Regions from separate parts of the Homo sapiens genome. Here region 2 is linked to region 1. Evidence: promoter capture Hi-C in human tissues and cell types (Jung and others, 2019). All regions are on one chromosome and are shown on one strand. Each heading gives the region's core, a stretch centred on a gene start or on the middle of the fragment in contact. The rest is flanking DNA. Distances are from core to core; before and after follow the strand shown.

Region 1 (7,049 bases), core at 454-2,953:
ACATTTTTTAAAAATTATATAAATCTTTGACTTCATTTTAGGGATTTCTTATTCAGATATTTATCTGGGAGTCTAATTTTCAGCTAATTGCCATCATCTTTACTTCTGTTGCTTGTAGAATCAGCCCTTGACCAATTGAGGACACGATCTGGTCTCTAAGTGATGACTTTGTAATTAATGCCATAAGCAAGTCTTAGATTTTTAAAGGATTTTTAAAATTATGCTCAAAACTTGGTTTAATTTTTGAGCATGATAAAAAGAATCTAACAATAAATGTTAAGCTCTGAAATATCAATGTCATTCTCTTTCACTAAGCAGAGCCTTCTAAAACAGACTGTCCAGGGACCACAGCTAACTAAAGCAAATTTTATCTGTGTTAGTAATTAAGGAAAATTCACCCAGAAACACAGATTGTGTCAACACAGATAGCAGACAGTTAAACAATGATCTATGGACCACAGACCATGTTATTGAGAAAAAGAGATCTCCGTTGCTTGGGATTAACTACATGGTGTGTAACATCAGGAATTCACTGGACATGTGTATCTTTCAATCAAAACATGGTCACAGCACATTTATTCATTGATTCAGAATTCAGAGGTCATAGTCTTGTCAAAGAGTTATTTCCCAAAACCTGTTCCATACAAGTTGCCTCTTTACGGGTTAGAATCTGGTAAAGAGACATCTTAATGATTGGGTTTGTTTCTCTCTTCTCCTTCCCTGACATTTCCATTCCCTACCCCAGCCCCAACATCCTACTAGTGGATTCCACAGATGGCTCTCACCTCTGCCTCTCGTTGTTTCTCGCTTTTCCACTGTTGCTCCCCCAGGGTCACAGGGTGGGCTAGAAGTGTCTTCAGATCCTCCTGCTTCTCTAAAGTAACAGCAGCTTCATACTCTCCATCTCTGAAATCCTCAGGAAGGAATTCCCCTGCCTCCCCATTGCCATTCTTCTTTCCAGTGACCTATGAGGGAAGAAGATGGCAGCGTCAGAAGCAGCAGCCTCGTCCTGGGTCATTCTTCACAGACAATGCCGCAGGAGGCTCTTGGTCCTTCTCCCCTGGGAACAGCCACCTTTGAGCAGTGCACTCTCAGATCTCAAGCTGCGATGCACACTGCTACAATTGTCCCAGAATTACCTTCAGATGCTTGTCCTACTCTCTTGGTTAAATCAAAGCTTGGGTTAGGTTGACAGATTAAATCTACTTTTAATCTGCTTAATCACATTTCTTTTAGGAAAATCAAAAACCTTCTCTGCTTAATTAAAACTCAACTTTAGGTACTTTTGATGAGTTTCGCCTTATTGTAAAGTTTCCGGGCTTACATTCTTTCAATAACACTTCTTCCCTAAGACATTTTGATAACTACACGTGATTCCACACTGTAGTAATAAAACCAAAGGAGAAGATATTAAATAGGAAATATGCAGAGAATTCATTACTGGTAGCTCCATTTTTTTTTTCCAATTTCACTTGTTTCATCACATCAACCTTTTTCCATATATGACATTTTCAGAGTTCCCTTGCATTACACCTGAAAGCAAAGGGCATTTCAATTTTCAAATAAAAACCAAGATGAACCAGTTTTCATTTTATAAAATTAATGCATCTTACATACCAGTTCCTCTACTTTCAGTACCATCATGTTGGCTGAAGGAGTCTTGTATGTTTTTCTGTCGTGGAAGGAATCCCTGGAGTTGGCCCTGCTGGGCCCCTCCACACCGGTCAGCTTATATAGCTGGGGCCGGGTGAGATAATCTTCCAACCTGGGAACCGAAGTAACACTCCCACCCCCATTAGGAGCCAACTCAGAGGCAGGTGAATTTTCATTCCAGACTCAGTGTCTGGGAAGCTGAAGAGGGAGGGGAGGACAAGCTAACCCTGCTGAATATGTGAATCAGGAAGAAATGTGAGAGGGCCATTCCTTTGGTGGTGATCACATCGCTCAGCAATGCAAGTCATCCTATTTGTCAAGAGTCAGGGGACAGCTGTCTGTTGACATTGCACCACATCACTGCCCTTTTTTTCTTTGTCAGCTTTCATATGACTACCTATCAAGAAAATGTAGATGCCCTACATATCACACCCCCAGTAATATCTTTCTGATAAGCAGACTTATCAACACTTCACTTAGGGGAAACTTGTCCCAGGACATCCTATTCCCTGGGTAAACAGCCTGAGGGGAAGGGATCTGGGCCCTAAAGGCACTTGTCTATATCTGTTTGGAATTCTTTGGAGTGATGTCTGGGGCTAAATAGGCCCCATGACATGCCACCTTACCATCATTATAAGAAATTGAAAGCATTCAGTAATGCACTTTTCTTTTATGATGTCACTGGCCATAATTAGCACATGACATGCTTACCGTGTTCTAAAACAGCATAATAATTGGAGCATTTTTACTTCAAAATGGATCAGAGTGGTCAAGAAATAGAGTAAATGAAACCAGCTATCAGCCGGGTGCAGTGGCTTACACCTGTAATCCCAACATTTTGGGAGGCAGAGACAGGAAGATTGCTTAGCTTAGGAGTTCAATACTAGCCTGGGCAACATGGCAAAATCCCATCTCTACCAAAAATACTATATATATATATGAAAAAAATGAGACCAGTTATTAGCAATGGCAGGACTCTGATTAGGTCATTGAGCTGAAGTTCTCAAATGCTGTGGGGAAAGGAATCACCTGTGGGAGCTTGTCAGAAATACAGATCCCTGGGCCCCACTCCAGGGAATTCTGAGTTGATTTATGGTAACTCGTAGGAATCATCTTGAATTTCAAAGCACCCAGATGATTCTGATGCATCAAGATTTGAGACACGTGGCTGGAGGGATAATGCACTTTGCTTCCGGAAGGGTTGAAAAAGGTCTCTATTTCTGGTTTCTAATCTTTGAGGTGTAAATTATGTAAAAATACTGGGGTCTTTTTATAGTTTCAGGAAAAACTGGGTTTTTTTCAGTAAAAGAAAGGAGAGAAGAATGGGAGAAGGGAATTGTGAATGGAGGGAAGTGTTAATTAGGAAGTTATGTTTGACCTTTGTGTGTCTATTTCTCCCCAAACTCACCCAATCAACAAATGTGGCTGCCATTCTCCTCTTCCCCCTTGAATGCTCAGTCAGTGGATGGTGTTTCTGAAACTTTGAGAAGACATCGACTCCCCACCCCAAGACAAAACATTGACAAAGAGGGACCCTCCCAGTACCTCCTGTATCATATGTTCCGGTCTCCTAATATTCTATCTTAAAAGGGGGTTAATTAAAGGAAATCTCCTGGGCTTTTCTTTGAGATGGACACAGCTATCACTATTTTCTTTTTAATTTTTTCCTTTTCTCTTTATTATTTATTTATTTTTAATATATGGAATGTTTCACAAATTTGTGTGTCATTCTTGCACAGAGTCCATGCTAATCTTCTTTGTATAGCTCCTATTTTAGTATATGTCCTGCTGAAGCAAACAGAGTCATTACTATTTTCATTGGTCTCTTCATCTAAGTCAGAAGTAGTCATGGACACTTTTTCTACCATTTCGTATGCCTTTTTGTTCCAGGCCTGACCCAAACTGAGGGAGGTATTAGGAGGAGAAGTGTTTGGGGGAAGGACTGTGGGATGTTTAAGGGTCTTGGATATGAAATCCCAGAGCTGTCCATGCCCTCGAAGTTGGAGCAAGACTAATGCTCTCATTTTACAGAGAGGATGCTGAGGCAAAGAAACATTAAGTAACTTGCTGCAGATGCACAGCTAGTTGGTGAATGCTAGGTTGAAGAGTCCTGATTCCATCCAACAGAAGCAGACAATCATTGAGCCCAAAAGATTTCCTAGGGCAAGTCTCACCTAGACCCACTCAGGATGCAACCAAAACTGATTAAATGGCTCCTTACTGTTTCAATCACCTCAAAGAATGCAAGTGAAAGTGGGCAGGGAGGCTTACCAAGCCCTTTTCTTTCTCCAGGCATTTAATTATCCCTTGAAACCTAGCTGATTCTATAGAGAGGCTCCAGGAAGTCTTGAAGAAAACTTTGCAGAGGATGACACTTGAAGATGAGTTGATGGAATGGGCTGAACTTAAAGGAGCACGCTGGTGGATGCAAGGATGTCAGGGCTGGTGAAATCACTGCCAGTTCAACCTTTTCCCATGTTGATCCAGCTTGTCATTATAAAACATGAGAGGTACAACTTGAGGATAAGTGGTCAGAAGATGTAAAAAGAATATGACAACAAATAAAGAAAAAAAACATGAGAGAATCTGCTTTTTGAAAAGAGATTCTAGGCACCTTTAGCTCTCTAAAAAGATAAAAACAACAACCATTGTATTTTCAAATCGTTCTTATTCATCAAAATTGAGAAAAAAATTCCCCTGGCGGAGAGTTTTCTGTCATTTGTTTTTCAGAAGCATCCTTCCCATAAAAGTTCACCCAGTGGTGTAAATTCTTATATTTGTGTATTTGGCTTTATCATAGCCTCAATCTGGACATAATCTATCCTTACTAAGATGAATTAAAACAATAAAGGTCCTAGTTGGTTCTACAATCATAAAGCAACTTGGCATCACCCATCTCCAACCAGAAAGAGTAAAGGAAGCATCCCTGAGCTTCTCCAGTGTCACCCCATGAGCCTTTTCCCACTCCCCTCAGGATTTATGCATTTCCATGGGTGAAATGACATGTGACTAGAATTAGGACCATGGTTATAGCTGGAGAAAGTGAGAAGCAGAGAAGTAGCACCTAAAGCAATTACTGCTGTCACCTAGGGATTAAAAGAGGCGCTTGGACCCCACCCAGATCCATGTGCCATAGCTCAGCTCCAAGTCCAAGGGCAGTTTTATCTTTCTGTATAAAATATGAAGTTCCAGACGTTCTACTTCTACTCCAACTTTTCATTCTTATATTTTAACTATATAATAGACACATTATTGTTAAAAATAGCACAGAGAATGTTATTTAGTTCAGATCTTACTGTCGATTTGATACTTGATTATTTTTCGCTCAGTAACCGTGTCTTACAGATTGTCTCCTATCTGCACAAACAAATCTATCTTGCTATTAGAAACAACTGCATGAATTTCCATGCACGGACCTACCATTTCTTATTTAACCACTTTCTCATTTGTGGACATGTAGGCTGTTTTTTTAAAATGGGCATTTTTATTTTCTAAAAAGGCATTTTATAGCACATAAAATTTTATTGTTATTAACACTCCTTGTCCTTAGAACACCCAACTTGATACTAAAAGGAAGTGCTCCAAGGACTGTAGCCAGATTCTGACTTGGAAACCTCCTTGTTCCACTGTTGTACTTACAATTGCTCATTTTGCCATCCCTTTTAATAGCCTTCCCAGTCCCAGCTGTTACGCACCTTCCTTGGCCCAGAGAAGTGGCTGACTTAGCCTGACCAGCAAGCCATGGCTCAGTTACGTGTTTGAAAATGCCAAAGGAAGGTCATAAAAGTGAAGCAAATAAGGTTTAATGTTGTTTCCCCTCCCCTGCCAGGAATGGGATAACCTGTATTTGAAAAGCAGAAAAGTACTGGAAACATTTTCAGCAGGATTGTGGCACCTGCCTTCCTTGCCTCTCGAAAGGCAGAATCAAGACTAAAGTCCTTCTGCCCAGGACTCTGGATAGAAAGGGCACAAACTGCCCTAACACAGTTGGGCTGCCCACAGTAGGTTACTTTTTACGGATATCGGTGGCCTCCTGACGTTAGAGGTAGGTGAAGGCTGTAGGTCTCACCTCCACACCTTACAGCAGGTGCCTTGTTACAGTAAATAAGGTATCTCAGTGCAAATTCTGCCACACATATGAACTCACACCAGCCAACAGGCACAAAGGGCCACATGCACTATTCAGTAAACTCATGAAGCCCAGCCCTTTGTCCATTTAGGCCCTTGGACAGTGTCCAGCACAAAAGATTCGCTTGACTAGGCATGGTGGCTCATGCCTGTAACCTCAGCACTTTGCGAGGCCAAGGCAGGAGGATCACTTGACCCTAGGAGTTCGAGACCAGCCTAGACAACATAGCGAGATCCTGGCTCTATGTTTTTTTATTTAAAAAAAAATAAAAGAAAAAGTTTCACTTGAAGCAAATGAAACCACAACCACATTCTGGCAGCATATTTCAGCTAATTTTCTAGTCCACTCAAGGTGATTACAGACTCCTCCACATATGGCCTAACACAAGATAGGATGGAGTCCTAGCACTCACTATAAGCCTAGGACTCCAACTGCATAGAAAAGTGCCTGACACATAGTGGGGCTAAATAAATATTTACCTGAGACCCAGCAGGGCTCATATTCTTTTCTAACCAAACCACATATTTCAAATTCTCCTTTCAATGAGAAATAATTGGTAACATTTCTCATGCTAATTAACCATTAATCTGTCAATACTATCAAAGGTAAAGATAGGTAAAGTACTTGGGATTACCTCCACTGGAGTGGGGGCAGCTCATTAGTGTCTTTCAAATGCTAACTAACCCCAACAGTTGTAATCGCAGAGTCAGGGCTTCTCAGGTGTGAACTAACATTTCTTCAAGCAGTGATTCTCTAAGCTGGGTGCATCTTAGAATCCTCTGTGAAGCTTCTAAAAAAATGCTGATGCCCAGGCTTCAGCTCAGGCACATGAAATCCAAATCTCTGCTCAAAGATCCAAGGAATTGGTATTTTTTAAAGTTTTCCAGTTGATTCTAATTTCCTCCCAGCATTGAGAATACTGCTCGAGGGTGTAGAATTAAATGAATATGTATCTAAATACACGTGTATTTTCTCCAAGTTGTAGTGGACAGTCAAGCTATTGTTATTCTGGTCTCAGAATTTTGATTGTTGAAGACTCTTGCCTATGCTAAGACCATGGGAAACACACACATACAATTTACTCATTTATTTTTTATTTTATTTTATTTTATTTTATTTTATTTTATTTTATTTTATTGTTTTGAGACAGAGGCTTGCTCTGTTGTCCAGGCTGGAGTACGGTGGCACGATCTTGGCTCACTGCAACCTCTGTCTCACGGGTTCAAGCAATTCTCTTGCCTCAGCCTCCTGAGCAGCTGGGACTACA
Region 2 (7,494 bases), core at 2,581-5,080, 470 kb after region 1:
GTGTATGTACACTTTTTCCAAACCTCTTGGATTGTACTGACACCATTGTTATTTCCTGAGCATGAATAAACCCTCTTCCTTACTCACCCACTCATATTTTGAAACTTGTCAGGATATGAAATAATTTGGTGCACTTTTCATGCTAAAATTATCCTTGGAGGAAGAGTTCTACACACCAAACATTCACCCAAAAAAAGACTCTAAAAATGTAAATGTTTGGTTGTTCATGCCAGTAATCAAGGCTAGAGAATTCAACCCTTCCCAAGTTAGGGAGAGAGAAAGTCTGCTGTGCATCTTGTAGCACAACTGTCACCATCCGGGCTTGGAAGCTCTGTGTTCCTTTATCTCACTACAGTACAGTAATCCCCCTTATCCACGGGGCATACGTTCCAAGACCGCCAGTGGATGCCTGAAACCACAGACAGTCCAGAAACTTATGTGCACTATGTTTGTTCCTATACATACGTATCTGTGATAAAGTTTAGTTTATAACTTAGACACCGTAAGAGATTAATAACAATAGCTAATAATAAAATAGAACAACTCTAACAAGATACCATTAAACAGTTATGTGGATGAGGTCTCTTGCTGTCTTTCAAAATACCTTATTGTACTGCACTCACCTTCTTGTGATGATGTGGGATGATAAAATATGGTGTGCGTGATGCAATGAGATGAAGTGAGGTAAATGACGTAGGCATTGTGACTTAGCATTAGGCTACTACCGACCTTGAACACAAGCACTGTGATTCAGCAACAATCAAGGTAACTACTAAGTGGCAAACAGGTAGGTAACATAGACAGGGTGGATATGCTGGACAAAGGGAGGATTCCCATCAGAGCAGGACAGAACAGGATGGCACAAGATTTTATCACGCTACTCAGAATGGCACACAGTTAAAAACTTATGAATTGGTTATTTCTGAAGTGTTCTATCTAGTATTTTCAGACTAGAGTCGATTTCAGGTCACCGAAACCACATAAAGCAAAGCCAAGGATAGAGGGTGGGGGTATTGTACTGGCATTCTGATTTTTGAGAGCTGTCTTTTCAGCTGAGAAAATGGGGAGTAAGTCCAAGACAGCCTCATCTGCCGAAGAGCAGGTTGCATGGATGGAATGGGCAAAGACAGAGTGAATAAGTATATCATATGGTTAGCTAAGAAACTTTCCCCACTTTTTAAAGGCAGTTTTAATAGTCTGGAACACATATGGTTTTCTTTAGGAAAAAAAATCACAGGAATATCTGCAAATATGAAATAATTGTATAGACACCATAACTCCAAAAACAATTATTGCTTGTCTGATTAGAATTAGAAACACTGCTGATTTAACTCATGATTTTGATTCAGGCCTTAACTGGAGCACGGCTCAGTTACTTCAGTTAGAAGTAACTTAGTTTTTCTAAGAAGCTCCAGTTGCCTGGGCTACAAAGCCCATTCCGTAACACTATGTCCATCATACACATAAATAAATGACCAAAGTGTGATGACCTAGAGACTCATTTGATCACAAATGTGGACTTTTTGTCTTCAGGAAGTTGGGATTTCTCTTCACAGAAAGGTCGACTCCATCCGTTGTCTGCACAGCTCTCTCCCTCACTTGCTCACTTTCATCACCCCCAAAACATGCACCCTTCCTCCCTTCTCCCACCAGAGAAACTCTTACTTATTCTGCCTGATTCCGTTTACCTGCCCACTTTACCTCAAGAGCAGCTTTAATTAGTTGTCCTTACTCCGTGCCCCATTAGTACCTTCTGTTTAGCTGTTCCATGGCATTTATTAAGCTGAATTGTAGCTAGTTTTATCATCTGCCTCTTCTTACCTGACTAGGGGTGGGTGGGGTGTCTGGAGGGCATCTATTGGGTGCTTTAATCCCACCATTTTATTTTGCACAGAGCAGACTCTCAGTAAGTGGTGGGTGAAAGATGTTAAGATACCCTCCCTCCCATGGTTGTGTGAGGATCCAATGCGATGAGACAGATGAGATCAAGTTTCAGATCGTAAGACCCTTCCTAGATGTTAGGTAGTTTTGGCAAAATGGAACACATATAAAATTTGTTTCATTGTACCTATATTTAAGTGGATGTTTGGTATAGCTTAAGCTTGTTTCAGTGATTAAGGGGACTTGGGAAGGTAATTAATCTTTACAGATTACTTTCGCTGTGCCAGGTGCTTTTTATATACTTTTATTAATCCCTCCAGCAATCCTGGAGATAGGTATTAGTATCTCCTTTTTACAGATAAGAAAACTGGAATTCAGATAAACCAAAACACCTTCCAATATCACACAGCGAGTGGCAGAGCCAGGATTTGACCTAAGCTTTGTCTGCCTCCAGAACCCATGTTCGCTTCCCTACAGGATGCTGCCTTTGCAGAGGGAAGGATCTTAAGTCATAGACGATTATTCCGCTCACCCTTTCACTCGTCCCCTATTCCACACACCTGAAAAATATTTATATATCAGAAGAAACTGCCTAAGGTATGCAGCTGAATGGTGGCTGAGCTCAGCATAGTCCAAGAGTCTGCACAGGTGTTGACTGGACTCCCAGAAGCCAGAAATAGTCTCAAGCTTCTTTACAGCACAAAGAAAAGACACTCACCCACAATGTAAGCAAATACAACAAATCAACTGGATTGTGATAGTTAAATAGGTTATGTCTCTGTGAGGTTTTGGTATCAGAATGATGCTGGCCTCCTAGAATGAGTTATGAAGGAATCCCTCCTTTTCGATTTTTTGTAATAGTTTCAGTAGGATTTGGTACCAGCTCTTCTTTATACATCTGGTAGAATTTAGCTGTGAATCCATCTGGTCCAGCAGTTTTTCTGTTTGGTAGGTTTTTTTTTTTTTTACTTACTGATTGAATTTCAGAACTCATTATTAGTCTGTTCAGGGATTCAGTTTCTTCCTGGTTCTATCTTGGGGCGGCGGGGGGTGGGTGTTGTATGTTTCCAGGAATTTATCTATTTCTTCTAGCTTTTCTAGTTTGTGTGCATAGAGGTGTTCATAATAGTCTCTGAGGATTTTTTTTTTATTTCTGTGGGGTCAATGGTAATGTCACCTTTGTCATTTCTAATTGTGTTTATTTGGATCTTTTATTAATCTAGCCAGTGGTCTATCAATCTTATTTATTCTTTCAAAACCCCAACTTTTGGGTTCACTGATCTTTTGTATGGTTTTTCACATCTGAATTTAGTTCAGCTCTGATTTTGGTTTTTTTCTTCTGCTAGCTTTGGGGTTAGTTTGCTCTTGCTTTTCTAGTTCCTCTAGTTGTGATATTAGGTTGTTAATTTGATACCTTTCTGACTTTTTGATGTAGGCATTTAGTGATGAAGGCACTGTACTTCTCTCTCAACACTGCTTTAGCTGTGTCCCAGAGATTCTGATATGTTATATCTCTGTTTTCATTCATTTCAGATAATTTCTTGATGGCTGCCTTAATTTCATTGTTTACCTAAAAGTCATTCAGGAGCAGATTGTTTAATTTCCATGTAATTGTGTGGTTTTCAGCAGTTTCTTAATATTGATTTCTATTTTTATTTTGCTGTGGTCTGAGAGTATGGTTGGTATGATTTCAGTTAGAATTTATTGAGAATTGCTTTGTGGCCAAGTGTGTGGTCTGTGCCATGTGCGGATGAGAACGATGTATGTTCTGTTGTTGTTGGCGGTAGTGTTCTGCAAATGTCTGTTAGGTCCATTTGGTCCAGTGTTGAGTTTGGGTGCCAAATATCTTTTTTAGTTTCCTGCCTCGGTGATCTGTCTGATGCTGTCAGTGGGGTGTTCAAGTCTCCCACACTTACTGTGTAGTTATCTAAGTCCCTTCATAGGTTCCTAAAAATTGTTTATGAATATGGGTGCTCCAATGTCAGGTGCATATATATTTAGGATAGTCAAGTCTTCTTGTTTAATTGAACCCTTTGCCATTATGTAATTCCCTTCTTTGTCTTTTTGATCATTGTTCCTTTAAAGTCTGTTTTTTCTGAAATAAGAAAAGCAACACCGGCTTTCTTTTTTTTTTTTTTTTTTCCTGTTTGCTTGAGAGATCTTTCTCCATCCCTTTACTTTGAGCCTATGGATGTCATTGCATGTGAGATGGGTCTCTTGAAGACAGAATACCTGAAACACTCCTATGCACTTTCCAAGGTGCTGCTGAAGTGTAATGTGTTTGAAAAGCCCTTCTGGATGCACTTAGAGAGAATTAATTATTCCTTCCCCAGAGCACTCATAGACCTTTGTACGTGCTCCTGCTATAGTTCCTTTTCACACGTGCTATGCTGAAATGCATCTTCTGCTAGAATGAGAAATCAACAAGAGTAGGAACTGTTTCTTAATTGTCTCAATATCCTCAGAGCCTACCTACACAGCAGATATTCAATAAATGTTAATAAGATGACTACTGAAAAGATGACTACCTACCTACACAGTTCCTTTTCACACGTGCTATGCTGAAATGCATCTTCTGCTAGAATGAGAAATCAACAAGAGTAGGAACTGTTTCTTAATTGTCTCAATATCCTCAGAGCCTACCTACACAGCAGATATTCAATAAATGTTAATAAGATGACTACCGTACTACCACCACTAGAGGGCAATGTAACCGAGATTACTATACACCACAGGTGCAGTTCCAGATGAATAACGAAAGTAACTTTTTAAAAAATAACATATTTCTCACATATTCTTTGTATTTTTCCATGCATTTTAGTCAATTCGGTATTTAAGTTTGAGGAAACATTCAACAAATGTAAAAAGAACACTTGAAACAGAGGCTAAGTGCCAGAGTGCTAAAGAGCATAAGGATTAATTGCCTGGCCTGGAGAGAAAAAACTACAAAATACAAATGGGATTGGAGATGGGATTCATCTCAGACAGAAAGCAGCTATCCTAATAAATTAGTGCTGTATGTTCTCACATTCTCAGAATGCTCCATCCTCCACGTTAACCACAAGGTGGAATTAAGCATCATTGTATCTAACAAAGAAATGAATTACAAGGAAATAAACATTTATGAGTGCTTGTAATTCAGTAGAATACAAATCGAGTGTAACTTTCAATTTAAGAAGTTTCTGTATATTTATTTCTGGAACATAGCAATTCTACAGCTGGCTTTCCTTCTGTTTAGATTTCAGACCAGTGATGAAACAAGAATTCAAGGAGCAAGTTTCTTTCTTTTTTTTTTTTTTGAGACTGAGTCTCACTCTGTCACTCAGGGTGAAGTGCAGTGGGCAATCTTGGCTCCCTGCAAACTGCCTCCCAGGTTCAAGCGATTGTCCTGCCTCAGCCTCCTGAGTAGCTGGGATTACGGTGCGTGCCACCATGCCCAGCTAATTTTTGTATTTTTTAGTAGAGACAGGATTTCACCATGTTATCCAGGCTGGTCTCAAACTCCTGACCTCAAGTGATCCGCCCACCTCAGCCTCCCAAAGTGCTGGGATTACAGGCATGAGCCATCATGCCTGGCCTCAAGGGACAAGTTTCTGATGTGACATTTCTTCTGTACAATGTAAATAAACTTTAGAGGAAACTCCACTCAGTGCCATTTCCAGGGCAACAGATGACACCTCCTCTGTGAAACTTTTCCCCACCTTTCCAGCTACAAAAAAGCTCTCCACCAGTTTTGCTCCCATAGTTCTTTATTTGTACCCCCCAGTAGTACCCTTCACATTCTACCTTGTATTGCATTTACCTGGGTTCATGCCTTAGCTCCCCTCCTAGACTGGAAATCCTGGAGGATCTGGGCATGTCTGTTCATCCTCATAACCCAGAGTGTCTATTAATATCTCACATCATAGATGTTTGCTAAGTTTGGTTTAATTAAACTAAATGGAATGGAGTTTGTGTTCCAGTAACTGTGGCTCTGAAGCCTGCTTTTTTTAGTCTGTTTTCACTTTTTCTTCCCACAGTTGATTTATCAGCAGCACCCATCAGTTTCGAATGTGGACAGATTCATTTTGATTAAACGGCTTTCTATCACAAACATTTAGAACCAGTACCACAATTTAGCTAACAGTTACATATTTATTACTTAACCTCACTTGGCTTCAGTTTCCTCATCTGGATTTTTAGAAGGGGGAATGGACAAAATGTTTTTCAAAAAAAACACAAATTAATAACTAATGTCCCTTTTGTTATTTTTTCCTACCCATGAAGCCTATGTTTTGAATGATTTGGCCAATCTAACTGCATTTACACATTCAAAGTTTATTATTATCTCTTTAATGAATTCAAGCATAAGTAATTGTTAACAGTTGAATAATGTGTTTTTATCATACTGATGATATAATTTTGGCCCTAATTATGTATTTGTTTATTGAATGCCTACTGGGTATCAGGTTCTGTTCTTGACATTAAGGATAACTGTGAACAGAAGAGTCAACATCCCTGCCCAAGTGGTGCTTACATTCTAGTGAGGGTAAAAACAAAGAAACTTGATTATCATCTATCAAGGTTAAGTAGGTCTGTACAGCACTATTTGATTAATAATTGTGTGACTTAATTTAGGCTTTTTAGAGCTTTGAAATAGCTTGGGTTTCACACTGTCTACTGTGTCTAGGGTCCTTCTTTGTCAAGGACACCAGTGGTTAGAAGCTCTCTGAGATCCCTTCTACCGTGAATGTTTTGCTCATAATTTTCCTGACTATATTAGTTTTCTATTATGGTGTCAAAAATCACAAATTAAGTAGATTAATTAAAAAAAAACATTCATGATCTCATAGTTCTGTGGGTCAGGAGTAGGCTTCACCGGTTTCTCTACTTAGGGGCTCACAAGGCTGAGGCCCAGGTGTGGGCCATCTGGGCTTTTATCTGGAGGCTCTACAGAGAACCCACTTATAAGCTCATTCAGGTTGTTGGCAGTATCCAGTTCCTTGCAGTTGTGGGGCTGAGATCCCTGTTTCCTGACTGGCAGTCAGCCAGGGGCCTCTCTTTTAGCTCCTTAGGGCCACTTACATTCTCAGATAGCTCTCTCTGTCATCAAAGCCAGCAATGGCACAGGGAGCCTTTCTCACACTAAGAATCTCTCTGACTTCTGCTGGCAGCATCAGAAAGCATTCCTGTTTTCAGGGCCTATCTGATTAGATGAGGCCCACCTGGATATTCTCCCTATCTTAAGGTTAACTATGCCATATAATACAACACCATCACAGGACTGAATCTCATCACATGCAGAGGGTCTGGGTAGTTGGATATAACATCTTGGGGGATGATTTTAGAAATTCTGCCTACTGTACTGACCAGTGGAATTTTTCCCTCAAACAGTCATGAAGAGACTCATTGCCACAGATAAGGGTTTTAGAATCATATAACATTATTTTATTTAATGGAATGAAGGTCTTTTAAAAGGGCAGGTTGGGGCGGTGCATGGTGGCTCATGCCTGTAATCCCATCTCTTTGGGAGGCTGAGGCAGGCGGATCACTTGAGATCGGGAGTTTAAGACCAGACTGGCCAACAGGGCGAAACCCCATCTCTATTAAAAATACAAAAATTAGCCGGGCATG

What was found. The method cuts DNA at HindIII sites, captures the fragments that hold promoters and counts their contacts. A contact is called where the count stands out against the background at its distance.
Region 2: a fragment that was not itself captured here is called in contact with the fragment with the promoter of ANKRD1 in region 1 in 1 of the 25 tissues and cell types used here (bladder).

The regions. Positions count from the first base shown.
Region 1 is chr10:90,919,384-90,926,432 of GRCh38, forward strand. ANKRD1 (ankyrin repeat domain 1) reads right to left here and starts at 1,704. Exons shown (of 9, transcript NM_014391.3): 1 at 1,618-1,704; 2 at 786-965. The coding sequence starts at 1,644. It also overlaps the pseudogene RNU6-740P. RefSeq lists an enhancer at 5,907-6,793. The HindIII fragment of the contact is 6,615 bases long and covers 515-7,049 here.
Region 2 is chr10:91,385,226-91,392,719 of GRCh38, forward strand. All of the region lies in intron 3 of HECTD2-AS1 (HECTD2 antisense RNA 1), which reads right to left. Among named protein-coding and RNA genes, the nearest start is that of HECTD2, 21 kb to the right of the region's middle. The HindIII fragment of the contact is 6,638 bases long and covers 512-7,149 here.